Regions from separate parts of the Homo sapiens genome. Here all the other regions are linked to region 5. The links are contacts of gene promoters, found by promoter capture Hi-C in blood cells and fetal thymus (Javierre and others, 2016). All regions are on one chromosome and are shown on one strand. The core of a region is centred on a gene start or on the middle of the fragment in contact, and the rest is flanking DNA. Distances in the headings are between cores, read along the strand shown.

Evidence for each region. The method cuts DNA at HindIII sites, captures the fragments that hold promoters and counts their contacts. A CHiCAGO score of 5 or more calls a contact.
Region 1: a fragment that was not itself captured here is called in contact with the fragment with the promoter of SETD9 in region 5 in 5 of 17 cell types (naive B cells, non-activated CD4 T cells, monocytes and 2 more); the score reaches 8.2 in naive B cells.
Region 2: a contact is called between a fragment that was not itself captured here and the fragment with the promoter of SETD9 in region 5, in 9 of 17 cell types (monocytes, naive CD4 T cells, total CD4 T cells and 6 more). The highest score is 11.5, in monocytes.
Region 3: a contact is called between a fragment that was not itself captured here and the fragment with the promoter of SETD9 in region 5, in 7 of 17 cell types (total CD8 T cells, naive CD4 T cells, naive B cells and 4 more). The highest score is 8.8, in total CD8 T cells.
Region 4: the fragment with the promoter of IL6ST here is called in contact with the fragment with the promoter of SETD9 in region 5 in 5 of 17 cell types (naive B cells, neutrophils, total CD8 T cells and 2 more); the score reaches 6.9 in naive B cells.
Region 6: a contact is called between a fragment that was not itself captured here and the fragment with the promoter of SETD9 in region 5, in 4 of 17 cell types (fetal thymus, monocytes, non-activated CD4 T cells and 1 more). The highest score is 6.0, in fetal thymus.
Region 7: a contact is called between a fragment that was not itself captured here and the fragment with the promoter of SETD9 in region 5, in 1 of 17 cell types (activated CD4 T cells). The highest score is 5.0, in activated CD4 T cells.

Annotation. Positions count from the first base shown.
Region 1 is chr5:55,937,572-55,940,321 of GRCh38, reverse strand. IL6ST (interleukin 6 cytokine family signal transducer) reads left to right here. Exons shown (of 17, transcript NM_002184.4): 17 at 1-2,750. Among named protein-coding and RNA genes, the nearest start is that of IL6ST, 56 kb to the left of the region's middle. The HindIII fragment of the contact is 3,697 bases long and covers 1-2,750 here.
Region 2 is chr5:55,954,822-55,957,521 of GRCh38, reverse strand. IL6ST (interleukin 6 cytokine family signal transducer) reads left to right here. Exons shown (of 17, transcript NM_002184.4): 9 at 231-313; 10 at 1,287-1,497; 11 at 2,530-2,700. Among named protein-coding and RNA genes, the nearest start is that of IL6ST, 39 kb to the left of the region's middle. The HindIII fragment of the contact is 4,335 bases long and covers 1-2,700 here.
Region 3 is chr5:55,971,462-55,974,161 of GRCh38, reverse strand. The region is part of intron 3 of IL6ST (interleukin 6 cytokine family signal transducer); the gene reads left to right. Among named protein-coding and RNA genes, the nearest start is that of IL6ST, 22 kb to the left of the region's middle. The HindIII fragment of the contact is 6,726 bases long and covers 1-2,700 here.
Region 4 is chr5:55,993,635-55,996,349 of GRCh38, reverse strand. It overlaps IL6ST (interleukin 6 cytokine family signal transducer), which reads left to right and starts at 1,387. Exons shown (of 17, transcript NM_002184.4): 1 at 1,387-1,566. IL6ST-DT (IL6ST divergent transcript) reads right to left here and starts at 1,183. Exons shown (of 2, transcript NR_102755.1): 1 at 796-1,183. RefSeq lists an enhancer at 834-1,345, cis regulatory regions at 934-1,607, 301-2,619 and a silencer at 1,177-1,656. The HindIII fragment of the contact is 8,053 bases long and covers 1-2,715 here.
Region 5 is chr5:56,908,136-56,910,845 of GRCh38, reverse strand. SETD9 (SET domain containing 9) reads right to left here and starts at 1,250. Exons shown (of 6, transcript NM_153706.4): 1 at 1,103-1,250. The coding sequence starts at 1,200. RefSeq lists enhancers at 1-589, 685-734, 1,525-1,614 and silencers at 775-984, 1,165-1,374. The HindIII fragment of the contact is 6,770 bases long and covers 1-2,710 here.
Region 6 is chr5:55,915,378-55,918,095 of GRCh38, reverse strand. IL31RA (interleukin 31 receptor A) reads right to left here. Exons shown (of 15, transcript NM_139017.7): 15 at 1-1,452. The coding sequence ends at 976. Among named protein-coding and RNA genes, the nearest start is that of IL31RA, 65 kb to the right of the region's middle. The HindIII fragment of the contact is 5,310 bases long and covers 1-2,718 here.
Region 7 is chr5:56,229,910-56,232,656 of GRCh38, reverse strand. The region is part of intron 2 of ANKRD55 (ankyrin repeat domain 55); the gene reads left to right. Among named protein-coding and RNA genes, the nearest start is that of ANKRD55, 2.0 kb to the left of the region's middle. The HindIII fragment of the contact is 2,795 bases long and covers 58-2,747 here.

The DNA of each region.
Region 1 (2,750 bases), core at 114-2,613, 970 kb after region 5:
AGAGCTAGGGATCCCCCAAACTATCTCAAGCATCTAAAAAATTGCCATTTTTAAAGGCTTAAATTGTAGTAGTAAAGGGGAAAACAGGAAGTAGTAGTAAAGGGGAAAAAAAACCAATAAAGCATCTAAAAAATTGGCATGTTAAAAGGCTTAAATTGCTAATGTGTGTATATATATATATATATATACACACACATATCATTGACTTTTCTTAAGACTTCAGAGTACTGGGTAGATGAACACTTTATACAGTATATATCTTCAGCTTAAATTTGTTTTGAGTATTTTTTTTATTTTTAAATAAGTAGGCAAAGATTTAAATTTTTTTATTTTTAGTAAATGTTTGAGGCACACTAAGACAACTTGGGCAATATTTGCCAAAACAAAACAGAACCCCAAAAAATGTACATCTTGTTCTTAGCAAATATCATTATTGTAGAGACACTTAATAAAGAGATGGTATTTTAATGTCTGCAGTTCTGAGGTAGGGTGGAACTTAGTTCTACATTGTGATTTAGGAATTTTTAAAACCTTTTTTCTTCAAGGGAGAAGTGACCCAGGCCTCGAGTTTAGTGCTAAAGCCGCTAGTGTACTTATGCTGTCCCCTAACCACCACGTGCGATATGGAAGCAGATGCTAAATATAGGGGTTTTCTTAGAAAGTAAGAGGAAATTAGCAAGCGTTATTAGTGATTGACTACTGCTATCAAGTGAATTCAAAGGAAACAGGTTTTTATGCCATATTTAAGTTACAGAAACCAGGCATGCTTAGAATAGTTTCTAGAGGTTATTGGAGAATAGAAAGCTAAGAAAACTTGGTATACATTTACAATGGAAATATAATTACACTTTTTACTCTCAGAATATTGTTCACATTAGACTTCCTGTTTATCTTTTATATTCTTGCATTTATATAATGCCTCATCCTTTCAAAGTTCTTTCACATATTATATGATCTTCTTTATGAAAAAAATAGATGTTTCATTCTGATATATTCAGTTTCCCACTTTAGGCAAAAGTAGATTAATAGAATGACGAATTCAAAGTAGATGAGGAAAATCAGGCACAGAGAAGTAAAGGTAGGGATAGACCCAAATTTACACAACAAGATAATGACATCTCCAGCTTTTAAGTTGATCATCAAAGGCTGGGCTGGATTTGTCTTGCTGTATGTGTCAGGAAATTTATACCTATTACATTTTCCATTTTCTCAAAATTTAAGTCACATGACTAATATTTAGCTGCAACTTTCCTCATAACAAATAGTGTCATGAAGAATGTTGTAGTGTGAAGTTTGTACATTTCAGGGTCAGATATACAATATGAACTCTTAATCTACAGGAATGAGAATGGAGGATCATTGAAGGCCATGATATAAACAAATTTGCATGTTGAAGCCTGTATAAAACATGGTACAGTGAGTGAATATACCCCCATCCCCAAGAACACTTTATACATATTAAATGGATATATGATTACTGTGCAAAAATTCATTCTGGAAATGAACATATATTTGAGCACTAATATGTAATGTACACCTGCCCTAAGGAGAAAATAAATTATAAAACTTTTTACATTCAAAATTACTTTCCCAAGCATGTCTTAGAATAATCTATGTGTTGATGCATGTAAATTGTACTTTAGGTAGGCAAAGAAATCTGGTTATTTATGTAAAAACTAGTCTAATAAAGTTAGTTAGTGGCTTTATCACTTTAAATCTTTAGTGTCCAAAAGTGGTGTTTAAAGTAATAGCACATCAGAAAACCTTGTCTGGACAAAACTAGTTCACTCACTGCTTCTGCACCTGCAGTTGCTCCCTTTAGGGTTATAAAATAATGACCCAAATGTTACATGTGTTGATATTATAACTTGTCAGTTACTGATGTCTGTGGTATCCTACCCTCATCTCTGAAAGGGATAATACTGAATAATTATTAGAAAACTATAAAACTTCACACTTTGTACCATTAAAACCTAAAATTTTAATCTTGTCCTTTTTTACTATGGATCAGTCGGCACTCGGGAACAGCAGCAAGGAAAAAAAGCAAATTTCATTCACATGTTCTGTGTTCATACCTCTTCTCTACCTAATTGTTCATTTAAATTTCAGCCTTATTCCTTGATAAGGGATTTTACCACATGAAGTCATCCAGTGACCCTAGCTCTTATTGTGAAGTTAGTGGAGTATACTTAGAAATGTTACAACTTTAAAATGTTACAAAACATTCATTAAAGCTCATATTTAAAGTAGAGCATCTAGTTTGAGAAATAGAAATCAATTATTAAAGATGTCTTTTTTCTACCCATTTAACTAGTTAAAACCATGACATGTAAATGTAGAAGTAGAATAATCATAGAATTCCCTAAAATATTTCTGTTTACTAACATATATTGACCAAGTACATCAAGCAGGAGAGATCTTCCTTCATTCTGTTATAGTCCACATCATTCTAATTTTGCTCAGTTGTTATTAAGAGCATATTCCTAAACCATACACTTTTGTTTCAATAAAGTTTTATTTTGTTGAGATGAATAAAATAACAAAGTTATAAGCTGCATAAGACAAAAGTTCAATTGTTCAAAAAAAATTTACTGGGATAGCTTTCTATTACAGGTATTGTTAGATTATATTGTGCTGATAAGATTACTTTCTAAAAAATTTGTACTTTTCTGTAAATTAAAAGAATATGGAGTCATAAAATGGCAAGTGTTTTAGGATTAGCCTAAAATTGGACATTGTCATTGATTTCA
Region 2 (2,700 bases), core at 16-2,515, 950 kb after region 5:
ACAATTTTGAGGTTAGAAAAGAGTTCCAGTATAATTGATCAGGCTATCACCCTGACTAAAGGAAGAGCCAGGTGTTTTGTGCTGGGTTGGGAAAATGCTGGTATAAAGAGGTAGAGACACCATGCAATTGGAGGGCAAGAGTATTAAGAACAAAGTAAAAGAATAATTTGCAGAATTTTATTTTACTGTTAAAACCTTTTTATTTTAAGGAGTTTATGTCTTTTCTTTAGGACCATCTAAAGCACCAAGTTTCTGGTATAAAATAGATCCATCCCATACTCAAGGCTACAGAACTGTACAACTCGTGTGGAAGGTAAAAAATCACATTTATATTTTATCTCTTATAAATCTTTTTTTTTTTTTTTGAAACCGAGTCTCGCTCCATTGCCAGGCAGGAGTGTAGTGGCGTGATCTTGGCTCACTGCAACCTCTGCCTCCCAGGTTCAAGTGATTCTCCTGCCTCAGCCTCCTGAGTAGCTGGGACTACAGGTGTGCGCCACCACGCCCCGCTAATTTTTGTATTTTTAGCAGAGACAGGGTTTCACCACGGTGGCCAGGATGATCTTGATCTCTTGACCTCATGTTCTGCCTGCCTCGGCCTCCCAAAGTACTGGGATTACAGGCATGAGCCACCGCGCCCAGCCCTTATAAATACATTTTGTATGGTATTATGAATGGAGGTCTTTTAAATAGATAAATTTTTATTCATTTTAATAGCAAAGCATTTGATTACTATTTTTACTAAATAGAAAGGTAATGCTTTATATGTATTAATATTATATAGAAGTCAGGTTCATAAACTACAAATAATACCTTATAGGTATTTAAGTACAGTTCTGTGAAAGTATAAGTTCTATAAGAAGAGGAATGTTGTTTTTGTACTTTGGAATTTTCCAGAGTAACTCAGAAAATAATAAAAGTTTGTGATAATCAAAATGTATGCTGGTAAGTGCATGAGTAGATCATACTAAAAAAGAAGGTAGAAAAATACTCAAGCATAAAATAAATAATTTAGACCTACATAGCCACAGTGCAGAATTGATACAGAACCAAAAGCTAACGGAATGATGCTACTTACCCTTTTTTAGTTGAGGTCATGCTTTTACTCTTCATTTAGTATGTACTAGTTTTATTTTAGAACCAAATTTAAAATGGAGATTGTGAATCCTTTCCAGTTAAATATTTAGAGATTTGACATAATGGCATGATTTGTGAATATGAAGAAAAACTGATTTTTTATTCAAGATTTATGAGATTATTTTTAAAAATAAACTATTTTATTACAGACATTGCCTCCTTTTGAAGCCAATGGAAAAATCTTGGATTATGAAGTGACTCTCACAAGATGGAAATCACATTTACAAAATTACACAGTTAATGCCACAAAACTGACAGTAAATCTCACAAATGATCGCTATCTAGCAACCCTAACAGTAAGAAATCTTGTTGGCAAATCAGATGCAGCTGTTTTAACTATCCCTGCCTGTGACTTTCAAGGTTTGTATCTGTGAGATGGAGCCTGACTCTTGGGTGGAAAAATGGTGGTTAGGTATGGACAGGGCTCCCATAAAAAACACAAGTTATCTAAGACTGTCTCCTCAGTATCAGGGATAATCACTTGTTTATTTTTTAATTTTTTAAATTTTATAAATAATGATTTTCTTTTTTTCAGAGACTGGGTCTCGCCAGGTTGCTCAGGCTGGTCTCGAACTCCTGAGCTCAAGCGATCTCCCCTGGCCTCCCAAAGTGCTGGGATTAACAGGCATATGCCACCAAACCCAGCTAGTGATCGCATTTTTAGGAATCAGTCAGCAGACAAATTTCATCAGGATGCAAGAACATTTCCATCACTACATGCTCACTTAAACTTCACAGTAAGCTACTTCATTCATTTAAGCATATTCTGATTACTTACCTGGTTTTTAAAATATTATTTCAAGATTTTGAGAACTTTGTATACATATGACTGAAACGTTTATCTGTAGCTTTATTCGTAGCTTTCAAAGAAGAAAAATTGCAATTACAAACCGAAAGCATTTGAAGAATTTAGGGAAAGCAAATTTTTTTTTTTCTTTTTGAGACAGTCTTGCTCTGTCGCCTAGGCTGGAGTGCAATGGCACGATCTCAGCCTCTGCCTCCTGGCTTCAAGCGATTCTTGTGCACCAGCCTCCCAAGTAGCTGGAATTAAAGGCACGCACCACAATGCCTGGCTAATTTTGTATTTTTAGTAGAGACGGGGTTTCACCGTGTTGGCCAGGCTGGTTTCGAACTCCTGATGTCAAGTGATCCACCTGCCTTGGCCTCGTAAAATGTTGGAATTACAGGAATGAGCCACAGTGCCCAGCGGGGAAGCAAAATCTAAGTTTAAAAATTGACTACTTTACCTGTAAGTTATAATAAAGTGCTTTTAGGCAAGGAAGTATATGCTACAAAAATTGATAAATCACATGTTTTGGAAATGACTGTAAAATATGGAAATTTCAAATTTGTTAATATTTATTATTTCAATATTCAAACTTTGTTTTAAAGCTACTCACCCTGTAATGGATCTTAAAGCATTCCCCAAAGATAACATGCTTTGGGTGGAATGGACTACTCCAAGGGAATCTGTAAAGAAATATATACTTGAGTGGTGTGTGTTATCAGATAAAGCACCCTGTATCACAGACTGGCAACAAGAAGATGGTACCGTGCATCGCA
Region 3 (2,700 bases), core at 139-2,638, 940 kb after region 5:
CACTCATACTTACTTTGATCTGAACATCATTTTTATAAAGTTACGTAACTATGTGGTAGCTGAGATATACCCTTGTTTCATGTTGAGCTAGTGATCAGTGAAAATTCTCAGGTGGTTTTTACATGAGTTACTCTTAAACTAGTTCTCCCTCACCCAATGTATATTTCTTATTACCTAAATAGGATATATTTCCTCTGTTGCTAATTTCATTTTATCAGTTTTAGCCTGGTGTTCTACTCTTTCAGCATAATTTTAAATCCCAACATTTTCATCCGAAGTGTTGGCAGTTGTTTGTAGTCCTGTCCTCTGCTAATTTGATAAGCATGTGTGTCTGTCTTTTCCCAAGTTGTTGATTAAAATGTTGAAAATAACAGGACTGCATTAGCTACCTGTTGCTGCCTCACAAATACTCCAAATCTTCAAGGCTTAAAATGATAATAATACCTCTCATGATTTGTATAGGACAAGACTATAGATAGGCAGGCACAATCAGACGTATTCATCTTTGCTGTACAATGTCTGGGGCCTCAGCTGCAATATTCAGACTGGGGGCTGGAGTCATCTTCAGACTCCTTCGCTTATATGTCTGTTGTTAATGGTATCTGCAGGCTGAGGGCTTTGCTGGGGCCATTGTCCAAAACACCATACGTGGCCTCTTTTTATGGCCCTGGCTTTCTTACAATGTGTGGCTGGGTTCTAAGGGCAGATATCCCGGGAGAGAGAAAGAAAGCTAATTGGAGTCTGTATTCTTTTAATGATCTAGCCTCTGAAGTCTCATAGCACACTCCATTGGCTGGAGTGGACACAAGGCACCCATACAGATCTGATGTGGTTGGGGGAAATGCAGTCCCCACCTCTTCATGAAAAGAGTATGCGTGACATCGTAAGAAAAACGTGGGATGGGATAAATATGTAGGTGTGGCCATTCTTAAAATACAGTCTTCTCCAAGGATTGAGGGCATGCACTTCAGCATATTCTACTTAAGACTATCCTCTAATTGACTTTTTTCTTAAGTCAGTTTTTTTATATATGGGTAATCAAATATAAATTTGAGTATGAACCTATAAAAGTAGCAAAATATCAGCAATTTCATAATGTTCATTGTAATATCGGTTATAGTATATTCTTTTTTTTTTTGCTTTTTTTCTTTTTTTTTGAGATGGAATCTCGTTTCGTTGCCTAGGCTGGAGTGCAGTGGCACAATCTCAGCTCACTGCAACCTCTGCCCCCCAGGTTCAAGCAATTCTCCTGCCTCAGCCTCCTGAGTAGCTGGAATTACAGGTGCAGGTCACCACGCCCGGGTAATTTTTGTATTTTTAGTAGAGACGGGATTTCACCATGTTGGTCAGGCTGGTCTAGAACTCCTCATCTCAGGTGATCCATCCACCTCGGCCTCCCAAAGTGCTGGGATTACAGACGTGAGTCACTGCGTCCAACCCAGTTATAGTGTATTCTAATTCACATTTCTTCATCTTGCCCTATAAACATTCAAAATAACTTTATCAGATACCTTTCTTAATTAAAATACTTTCTTTTTACAATTTAATCTCAGCCTGGTAGCCCTGTAAAATGGGATTAATTTGACATGGGATGGTATTATTGAAGCTGTGTCTCACTTTGAAAAACGGAACATTTGCCCCTTTTTTTTCGAGACTGAATCTCACTCTGTCGCTCAGGCTGGAGTGCAGTGGTGTGATCTTGGCTCACTGCAAGCTCCGCCTCCTGGGTTCACACCATTCTCCTGCCTCAGCCTCCCAAGTAGCTGGGACTACAGGCGCCCGCCACCACGCCCGGCTAATTTTTTGTATTTTTAGTAGAGACAGGGTTTCACTATGTTAGCCACGATGGCCTTGATCTCCTGACCTCGTGATCCACCCACCTCGGCCTCCCAAAGTGCTGGGATTACAGGTGTGAGCCACTGCGCCCAGCCCATTTGCCCATTTTTAATATTTCTCTTATTCTGTGTGATTAAAAATTATTCATACTGAGTCTCTAATTATATCTTTTTAGAACTCTAGAGTATATTTCATATTTAACATCCCTATGATTACTTTAGAGAAAGTATAACAAGTGATTTTGCCAAAGAATAAAGTGATGTCTAGGGAATTGTAAGGTCTGACCCAGTATCAGAGAGTAACTTAGTAGAGATTCTCCACTGGATGAAGGACCATGCTATTGGAAATTGAGAGTAATATATGCACTAAGATTTACAGTAGGCATTTATAAATAACAGCAAGATGATATAAACAGACCACATTATAAGTTTGAAACAAAGAAATACACATTCCAGCTCTGGGTTTTACAGGCTTTGTGAGAGGTCCTGGGATTCCATTTGGGGATACAATTTTGACTGCAAAAACTGTTTTTAATTTTTTCTGGGCTCACTGCAGCCTTGACCTCTTGGGCTCAAGCAATCCTCCTGCCTCAGCACACGACCCTCACCCCCAAGTAGCTGGGACTACAGGCGTGTGCCACCATGCCTGGCTAATATTTATATTTTTTTTGTAGAGATGGGGTTTTGCCATGTTGCCCAGGCTAGTAATTTTTAATCTCAAAAACACTTCATGGGTAACTACCCAGGAACCCCACAGCAAATAGGATTCATTGAGGAAAGCCACCTTAAAATTGTGGACATTGAAGCTAGAGAAAAAGAATAAAATCATGTCAAATAGTTGGGACTTTTATCTTGGTAGTAGGTA
Region 4 (2,715 bases), core at 138-2,637, 910 kb after region 5:
AATTTGAACGTGCGGTGAGCATGATCCAGCCACTGCACTCCAGCCTGGGTGACAGAGTGAGACTGTGAACAACAACAAAAAAATCAAGTTTCCTGGATCTATACAAAATTTTCAATTTAACAAATTTTTATAAAAATTTGTTTTAAAATAAACACCCCTCTAAATGGCAAAGCTAGAACAGAATCTGGTCACAATCTATAGGTTAGATATAGGATGACAGGGAGGAGCAAGAGCTGAACACATCAGCTGCAGCACCATCTACTTTGCCTGCGACTCCGTTAGCAGGCCCACTTTGCCCTTTTATAAATTATCTGATCAACAACTAAGAGATTAAAATTCGATCTATGTTTTACTCTATCTGAATCCTCAATATAATGAAGAACTTTATAATTGTTAATTTATGGATATAATTTAAGTTCATTAAACCATTATTTCCTTCCTATATCCTCTCATTCTTCCACAAAAACCTCTACCTTTGGGTGTTTACTTTTACAGACACCCACGCACACACCCCACACGCACGCACGCACATGCCTTATCTTTTAACTCAAGATTCTCATCTTCCTTTGGGGAGAAACAAACATCATGAGCCTTGAGGTCCATTTTCTGAGGGAAAGGGGGGGGCGGAGGCGGGATGAATAGGTTTTTACCCGGTATTTTTTATCATAAACGGGGAGGTACAAACCGCAAAGAAACACTAGTCGCTTGGTGGGCCACCACCTCTGGGGCTCACTGATCAATCGCACCCAAACTCATTTACTAATTTAAAAAAGTACTGTGGCAAGGCTCGTTTACGTAAGTCTTGGAGAGAAGCCGCCGCCACAATCTGCCGCAGTCTCGTGCGGAGTCACGGCCACCGAGCTCTTCACTTTCCCCAAGAGGCTCCCACGCCTTCCCCATCCCCAAGGGAGCTAGGCGGTCCCTCGCGGCTCTGAGTCCCTCGGGGAAGGCCGCGAAGAGAGGCCGCAGGCGCCCTGGCGAGAAGGGAGGGCGGGGGCAGCGGGCGGCGGGCAGCACCCGGGCTCCAGTTCATGACCCCGTTATTCCACAGAAAAATGGAACATTCCGCTCTTTCCGCCCACAGAGGGGAGGTGGGGGGAACCCTTCGATCTAGTCTGGGAGAGGCGACGCGGACGCAGCCACCGGAATCCGGGACGCGAAGAGCCGCGTTACGGGAATCGCTACCCCTCGGAGTCCCGCCCCCTCGTCGACAGGCGGCCACTGGACCAATGCCTGGGCGCAAAGGGTCTCTCAGGGGCCAATCAGCGCCTAGGTCCCGGTAGGGGGCGGGGCGCAGCGTTGGCCGGCCGGGGGCGCAGCTGGGCGGGATTGGGGAGCGCCCCGCCCCGCCGCGGGACTGGGGTGGCGCGCTACCTCTGCGGAGAAGGATCTGACAGTGTTCCGGAGCCGGGGCGAGCAGCCAAAAGGCCCGCGGAGTCGCGCTGGGCCGCCCCGGCGCAGCTGAACCGGGGGCCGCGCCTGCCAGGCCGACGGGTCTGGCCCAGCCTGGCGCCAAGGGGTTCGTGCGCTGTGGAGACGCGGAGGGTCGAGGCGGCGCGGCCTGAGGTGAGGAGGGGCCGGGTGCTGGGTCGCGTAGCTGGAGTTAGAGTGTCGGTGGTTTCGGACGGGCTATCTGGCACTCGAGGAGACCTCCCTTCCCCCTGAGAGCAGCGCCCGGAACTTGTCAGCCCAGCCTGGAAATCCCCACATTCCTTCCCCTTCCTGCTCCCGGACCTCCGAATTCTACTTCCACAACTTTGTCACCTCGATTATCGCAGCCCTGAGTACAAACTTCACCCAGGCGCACGCACGCACCCCTCTTAACGCCCGCCCCGCAGAACGCCCTTCAAGAACAAACCCCCCTTTTTGTTACCAGATCCCACGTTTTTCCCAATCCCCTTTTCATCTCCCCTGAAATTCTATTCGCTCCGCACTTGTCTTCATTCTCGAGGTGGATTTCCCTTCCCCAAAGCCGTTTTTTCATCTTGAAATCGTAACGTTTCAGCTTTGTTGAAAGTTCACAATGCTTATAAACACTATTAACGTTTCTTTCCTTCTTTTGATCTTTTCTATTAATAATTATCATTCCTAACGAATTCCACATCTCACTGTATCCCAAGGAGAACAAATCAGTTTTTAAAATTTTACCTCCTCCGACCTAAACTTTTGAAGATAGTGCAGGAAGCAAGGGTCTGTTCTTCAGTGGATGAACAGCATTTTATTTCATAATCCGAAACTGAAAAAAAAAAAAAATCACAGGTTAAAAATAAGACGTCACCTTTTTTTTTTTTTTTTTTTTTTGCCTTCAGAAGGAAACGCATTTTGGCTTAGTTTGTGAAGTATTTCAACAATTATACTGCCTTAAAATAACTAGTTATTAGAATGCCAGGGTGAATTTTCTGAAAGATTGTGGTATTTGCTTTTGACAGTGCTGTAAACAAACCCTTTAAACTGTGTATGACTGCCAGCTTCAAGTTGGAACAACTCTTAATTTGAAATTACGGACTCAGATCATCAGTTTAGCTGTGTGCCATTATGTTAATTTCTTAAATTCATGTTAATTCCTATTTGGAAGTATTTTTGAACTATGAACTGAAATATTACATTTATAGAACCAACTTGCTATTAAATTGTGCTTTCCAACTATTTCTCTTTAGGGATAATCTTGAACGTTTGTTTTTAATCTTGAGTGAAAGAAAAAAATTACAGGAAGGA
Region 5 (2,710 bases), core at 1-2,500:
AGCCAGAGGCAGAAACGAAGTTCAGCTCTTTCCCGTACTACACCCAACAGCCAAGCTGAATGTCATCACAATGAGAATGAATGACCTCACATTCAATGGCTTTTTAAAAATGGCCTTGTAGTTTCAAAGACAAATTCAACATCGTATACTTTGTGACACTCCCTCCAGGACGACTAACGTCTTCAATGACTGCACCTCTTATTTCCATAATCATTATCTTTTTGTACTAACTGCATTATTTTTACTTGAACAAAAAGGTTGTAATTCCCGCCTCACGGTTCCGAGTCATGATACAACTGATCTCCTGTTTCCCTAGCATGCAACCTTCCGGAAACCGCTTTGTTTCCCTATTTGTCGGACACTGACTTCAGGGAGGCCCGGTCGGCCTCTTTGGTGAGCACGGTGTTGAGCTGATCACTGGTGCGCCCTTAATAACGCCGGCGGGACTCACCCCAATCCGAAACCCACCATCCCGACGTGCTTTTGAGTGGCGTTCTGCCCGTTCTTAACGCGCGAGCTACTGCACGCTATTCTCACAGCCGGGATGGGCTTCTTTAACCACGTGAAGTACTTGTATGAACTATGAAAATAAACCCTGGCTTGGCTTTTCTGAGGAAGTTCAAGCACCTAATTAACCCCTGGTGGAGAAAAAGCCACGCACTCTCACGCGGTAAGGGCAGTCTTTTTAAAAAGTTTCCATTTTTGCCCAGATACAAGCTCCCCAGTCAGTGCCGAACGCAACAGGGAAGAACAGGCGACACATCCGGCTGGCGAGCTCGGCCTCGCGGGCCCGGCAGCGCAGCGGACACTGGGAAAGAGGCCATAGGCCCCGCCCACCTGAAGCCACCGCCCACTTCAGGCTTCCAGCGGGCCTCGGACTCCACCAACCTCGGCCCCGCCCGCCTCTGGCCCGCGTTCCTTAAACCCCTCCGAGGCCTCAGTCCCCGCCCACCCGGCCCGCCCACCTCAGTCCCTGCCCACCCGGGCCCGCCCATCTCAGGCCGGCAGTCAGCCTCAGGCTCTCCGCTTTGCGTCCCGCCGCCGTGGTGGCGTCTGGGAACCGAAGGCAGGTGCCCCTCGTTCTGCCGTCCCGCCCTCTCACCTCGGGTTGTGGCTTAGGTTCAGTGCGATCCAGGGAACGAAGCGGTACTTGTAACGGCGCCATCGCTGCCACAGGCCCCGCAGCAGACGGCCAGGCATGGCTGCCCCGCGGGGCCGTGACCAGGACGGCGCGGGGAAGGCGGATCGAGGCCTCGGGCCCGCCCCGGCCCGGGAGGAGAGGGGGCCGCGCTCGGCCGCCTTCCCCTGGCTCCGCTCTCAGTGTTCCTGGCACCGCCTGACTTCTGTTGCTCTGGGGCTTCGTCCTTCCCCTTTCCTGACCTCACCTCTCTGAATGAGAGGCGCGTAGAGCTGGAAGGAGGTCCCCTTGACCACTTTTTCTTTCTCCGGTCGCTCGGGTGCTTCCGTGGGCGCACACAAGCGCTAGCCCTGGTTGCGGGCGAAGGGTCACCGGGCCTCAGGGGCGAACCCGCCCCCGAGACCGCGTCCCAGGAGCGGACCGCCTAGTTTCTCTGTCACGGCTGTCTGGCCTGCCCCTTTGTCCCGGCCGCGCTCTGTGTTCCATCCTCCGTCCACTTGAGCTCTGCCTCTTCCTCGACGTTCTCTCCCCTTCTCTCCGTGGCCCCAGAGCAGCCCGACTTCGGGAACCCGAGTTTCAGTCCTCCCCAGACAGCAGCCCTTCTTCTGCGTGAACCCGTGTTCCCAAAGTTACCAGTTTGGGCGTTTTGCGAATATTTACACGTAAAAAAACAAAGTGTCATGATTCCCTGTTTTCACTCGTTTTTCTCTTCATTGACCCAACCATTCAAAGGCAAAACTACATGGACAAATGTTTCTGAAAAACAGCTTTGTTGAGGAATGGTTGGGATACAATAAACTGCACATATTTAAAGTGAACAATTTGATAGGTTTTCGACACCACAGCCAAGATAGTAATCCAGCCCCTCCCCCAGTCCCCAAGCAACCACTGAGGTGCTTTTGTCCTTTTAATATGGTCTTCGCTTCAATTTGGAAACGTTTTGTCTAGAAGTTCTGCATCTGTGTTCGTGAGAGATATTGTTTCGTAGTTTTCTTGTAGTGTCTTAATCTGGCTTTGGTATTTAGGCTAATGTTGACTTCATAGGATGAGGTGGGAAGTAGTCCCCCATAGGTGAAATTTAAAAGGAACTTTACGACCGCTCCTCCCCAACACCCAGATGCATGCACACGCACACACATATTTAGAACAGGTTTGGACAAAGTTCAGTTTTAAGGGGGGCAAACTACAGGAATCCCTTAACCATATTCAAATCACCAAGTGTTTATTGACAGATAAATACGTTGGTATCATTTCCTCTATTCTTTGCCTGAGAGTGAGGTTGGATCCTAAACTATTGAAATTGAACGGCTCAGATCTAATAAAAACTCAGCCAAGGCCGGGCGCAGTGGCTCACGCCTGTAATCCCAGCACTTTGGGAGGCCGAGGCGGGTGGATCCCCTGAGGTCAGGAGTTCGGGACCAATCTGGCCAACATGGCGAAACCCCGTCTTTACTAAAAAAGAACAAATACAAAAATTAGCCGAGCGTTGGTGGCACGTGCCTGTAGTCCCAGCTACTCAGGAGGCTGAGGCAGAAGAATCGCTTGAACCTGAGAGACGGAGGTTGCAGGGAG
Region 6 (2,718 bases), core at 181-2,680, 990 kb after region 5:
CTAACTGTCACAAGCTCTGTGCTCAGCTAGAGAAAAGGAGCAGAAGTCCTCCTGTTGGGGCTGCAAATTTGCTAGGCATTGCATGTTCCCAGGCCCTGCCCTGCTGCTTCCGGGAAGAGGCCTTTTAAGTAAGCATTCCTGGGCTCTGAACCAGTGTGAGGGGCCAGCGTCCCTATATGACAACCACTGCAATGTCAGGTGCCTTTCTGCTCCCAGGCTGGGTGCTGAATAGAAGGGCAGCAGCAGCTGGGAAGTGGCCCCCTGGAGACTGGACAGAGCTGCGCCCGGCAGCATACATTCCCCAGGGCCCTCCCCATTCCTTGATTTTTTAGTAGTCAATGCAGTCTAAATTGGGGGTGAGGATTCTCAGGTGCGGTGTTGCTACAGGCACTTGAGATCTAAGAGGATGTGAGGAGCCTCAGACAACCCCTTAGGAAGGTCCACTCCACCTCCAGCCCCAACTATGGGGAGAGAGGAAGGCTTCAGGGCTACCTTGTAGGGGAAGACCAGAGCCCAGGCTCCCACCAGACCACCCAAGAGCCAACAAAACAACTGTCCTCTGGCAGCAGGGAAAGGCCTTCTGGAACTCTGAGGCTCAGCCCCAGCAAAGGCTGGGACCATGACCCAATTCCTGGGAGGCCAGATATGTCCACCCTGGGGGTCCTTTGGGCTCAGAACCTGGGCCCTTCCTTCAAAGTCAATCTGTCAGGAGGCCTCGGTGAGAGCTTGGTATCTGAACAAACGAAAAGAGACTGCTGTTCCTTTACAAAACTCGGGCTTATCACCATCCCTTCTTCCCAGTACAAGGTCGCATCTTTGCCGACCAAGTTCAACTGGCAGCTCAAGGGGCAGGGGAAACTTTAACCTAGGCAGGATGTGGCAGGGCCAAGCAAGCGCTGCGTGCCGAGTCTTGACATCTTCTCTGGCAAGGGCCATCCACACTGAGGCCCCGAGGGTCTCATGCTATGGTCGCATTTAGACTTCTCCCTTGGTGTGCTCTGGAAGTTTTTCAGACACAAGAAATTCCCTGGCTGTCACTGAATTTTTCAAATATGGATTTGGGGCTCCTTCCTCACACAGATGATCTGGTACTAAACTTTGACCAGAAAAGAGAAGCTGCTCTTTGGCTTCTGGGCGGGTCCCCTCTGGCATCCTCGAACGTAGGTATTGGGATTTTCTGGGCGGAATCTCAGGTGAAACTGGGAGCTCCTCAAAACTTTTCCCCAGGGGACAATCAGGCCTGAAGGGGCAGGTCACATACCCATTCTTTTCCCCTCCTAAATTGTTTTCCTGACCCGTTCTGGCTTCATCTGTGAAAATTTCTTGCAGAACATTCCCAAAGTTCACCACCAACTTGTCAATCACCAACTTGTCACTGGGGGTGGAACATGGTTTTAAGATCCTGTCTTCTGTGTTCACAGAGTCATCAGACTCCTTCAGGTTTAGCTTATCCTGGAAAAGAAAAAGGGACATCCCAAGTGGTCATTTAGGAGTCACATATGACATAGCCAAAAACTCGTTAGGCTTGGGACAGCAAATGCCCATCTCTGGAACAGCCCCCACCTTCCTCCCAGGCCCAGAAGTGGTAGCCAACCCTCTCTGCATGCCCTTCCACAGAGCTTGGAAGGAGTGGCACATTTCCTGAGAAACAGTGCCCTGGATTCAAACAATTTTTAAAATTTATTTATTTATATGTATATAATTTTTTTTTTTTTGAGACAGGGTCTCACTCCCGTTGCCCAGGCTGGAGTACAGTAGCATGATCACCACTCACTGCAGCCTCAACTTCTCAGCCTCAGGTAATTCTTCCCCCTCAGCTTCCTGAGTAGCAGGGGCTACAGATGCACACCACCATACCTGGCTACTTTTTAATTTTTTGTAGAGATGGGGTTTTGTCATGTTACCCAGGCTGGTCTTAAACTCCTGAGCTCAAGCAATCCCCCCTGCCTTGGCCTCCCAAAATGCTGGGATTATAGGCATGAGCCGCTGTACCCAGCCAATTCAAACAATTTCTTCTGCTAGAGTGTGCAAGGCTATTTTCCACACAATCCCATGTTCACAAAACCCCAGTTAAGATGGAAGAACTAAAATTAGAACTCTTAGGGATGGAAAAACCACATCATAGAGACAGACTTGTTCAACCTCACCAGAAAATCAGAAGTGGCCTCATGGCAGGGACAGTGACTTTGTCATTTGTATCCCTAGGGCCTAGCCCAGCACCTGGCATGTAGTGAGTGATTAATAAGTGCCGGCTCTAGAGGTCCAACCTACGGATTATTCAAAAAGCATGTTAGTTATCAGAGAGCACTGCCTATGAATCCATTTACTCTCTAAATGACATTTAATAAGCAGGAAAGTAAATGGGGGTATAAATCAGTCCAGTATACCGGACTGATAAGAGGAGGAAACAGAAAGAAAGCCCATTATAACAAAAGGCCCATGCTCAAAAAAGACTTCTGAGTGGGAACGAGGACTAATATTTAAAATTTGTGCATCAAGGAAAAACTGGAAACAGCCTTTCAGTAACAAGGATTTAAAGGTTATATTTGATTGGGCTTGTTTCTACGTAAGCAAGAAATTAAACCTTAAAATTTCCCTAACGGTTTTCCACTTAAAAATTTATGCAAATGGAGGGTTTCTAGTTAAGGAATACTCACTAGAAAACCCCAATGCCAGTTAAATAAAGCCTGACTCTGACGTCCCCAGCCTGAGAAAAAC
Region 7 (2,747 bases), core at 206-2,705, 680 kb after region 5:
TCTAGTTTGATAAGCATCTGAAACAGAAAAATAAGCTTATGATCTGTTGTATAAGCTTATGATCTTGTTGAAGTATTCCTACCTTCAAATTTTAAAAACTGGATTTCAAGCACACCAACTATTTCAGATAGTGTCATCTTTATTCTGTTTTTTCCAAATCTTTTTTAAAAATTAGGGTAAGCAATGTAAGAACACATCACATTTTTTTTGTCATTCGATTAGCCCAGTATCTCATTGCTGTATCTTCGTAAGCATTTTTTTATTCCTTTCAGGAATAGATGTTGCCTGTATTTATGTCGGGTTGATATGTTATCTCATCCAAGGTTGTGTAATGACATATCCCTATGCTATTATTTGCAATGCCAGGGTATATCTTCCTTACTTATAATTTCTGGAGTGGAGGTAATTTTCCACATCAAAATGTTGCTGTGAGATCAACTTATCCTTATAATATCACATATTTGGCCATGTGGTCTATGTGTATACATTTTGCATATGCAATGTGTTTATATACATCTTCGTGTAATACTTATGTGTAATAGTAAATCTTTTTTTAGTATAAACATGAAATTTCCATTTTATAAACATAATAAATATTTTTTAGAATCTTTTCTTAAATATCTATTATTTAAACCACTTTCTACAGTCTCTGAATATTCTTCAAGATCCTAAGTTCCTTTGGTGATTTTATCTGTTTTGGCTACAACATGAAATGGTGGTTTGAAAAAGCCTCATTAAGAAAATGTACTGCTTCATTCTTTTTTCCCTTTTCCTGCTCTAGGCCATAGCATGTTTATTACCCCTCAAGCTACATCTGGCTTTGTGGGTGAATTATTTTAGCCCAGGGGGTTTCTCCAAAAATAAATTTATATTTAGATTCCTGAGTTAGCTAATGTATATATGTGTATAGTGTGTTCTCCAGGTCTTAGCTCATTTGGAATAGTGTTTGTGTATGTGTATGTGTGTGTGTGTGTGTGTGTGTGTGTGTGTGTGTGTGTGTGTGCGCGCCTTCAGAACGTGCCGGCTCATACCGTGTTTGGATCTGAACAGCATAGAGAAAGGCGTTGTCACAGCTGTGCCCACCACCATCCTCTCCTCCTGGTACATTTTATATCACTGATGGCAGTCAGTAAAAGTGAAAATCTGCTAAGAACCAAAGAGCTCACACTGGCTGAAAAATGATGTTGCTAAGCCACGAAACATACAATGGGTTTATTTTTGAAGACTAATTGGAGGGAGCTGGGACTGACTGAAGAAGAACTAGCTCTTCATAATGAATTTACATGTTCCAGTGCTGTACCTTCTAACAGGATTGAGCCCCAAACATAGTTAAGATACAGAATTACAAGACTGATTTTCTTTTAACACCTTTCATGTGAGCAATTCACAGCAATTCCTCCACCTGGGCCGGATTCTCTCCCATGGAAGTTAACCCTCTCCCTGCCATCTTTATCTCTATTTCTCAATCCTTTCTCTCTTTCTAGAGGTTTTATCATATGATGGAAAGAGCATGGGATTTTAAATCTTATAGACGTAGATCAGAATGGCAGATCATCTACTTCTTAGCTGTGTGACCTTGGCAAGTTACCTAACCTCTCTGGGCCTTAGTTTCCCCAGGAATACAATGAAGGAAATGATGCTTACCTAGCAGGGTTGTTGTGAGGATCTAAAATAATAACATATAAAAAGCACCTGTTAGCAATGCCTGATATTCAATAAGTATTTTCCCATTTTGGCTGCAGCTGTTATTATTATTGCTGTTGTTATTATCACCTTGGACTGGGAGTTTCTGAAGTGCAAAAGACTACTCATCTCTCTACCTTCAGCCTGAATGTAGCAGTCCTCAGATCAAATGAGGGCTTAGTGCTGGATGACTAAATTACATTAATTATTTTTTTCAGAACCCTAGGATACCATTTATAGCAAGACCTAGAATAATAATTAACTAAGCCATTCCTGAATAGTTTTATTACCCATTAATCCTTCCTCTTTCTTAAAAGCATGAAAGACCATGAGGGTTGAGACCATTATACAGATTTTAAATACTATATTGTTGGACAAACCAAAGGGAGGTGACTTTCTCGGGAAAAGTTGAACATGGGGCTTTAGTTGAGGGTTTTTCATGAATCGTTACTGTCTGGATAAGTGAACCCTAGCAGTACTGTCTTTACATGCAGATGGGGACAGAAGACATTGCAGCTGGAAGAATCTTAGCAATCAAGTAACCTGTTGGTTCTCACATTGGCTGTACTTAAGAATCATCTGGGCCGGGCGCAAGGCTCACGCCTGTAATCCCAGTGCTTTGGGAGGCCGAGGTGGGCAGATCCCAAGGTCAAGAGATCGAGACCATCCTGGCCAACAGGGTGAAAGCCTGTCTCTACTGAAAATACAAAAATTAGCTGGGCATGGTGACACACGCCTGTAGTCCCAGCTACTCGGGAGGCTGAGGCAGGAAATCGCTTGAACCTGGGAGGTGGAGGTTGCGGTGAGCTGAGATCAGGCCACTGCACTCCAACCTGGCGACAGAGCAAGACTCTGTCTCAAAAAAAAGAAAAAAGAATCATCTGAAGAAATTCTGAAAATGCTGATGCTTGCATCCCACCCAGGGAGATTCCAGTTTAACTGCAGTGGTTGGCCCAACCAACACTCCTTGGGAAGTTCTCATGGACAGCAAAGATGCAGAACCAGTCATCCAACCTACCCCTCTTCCACATTTCAGATGAGGGAACTAAAGCACAGAGAGGTTC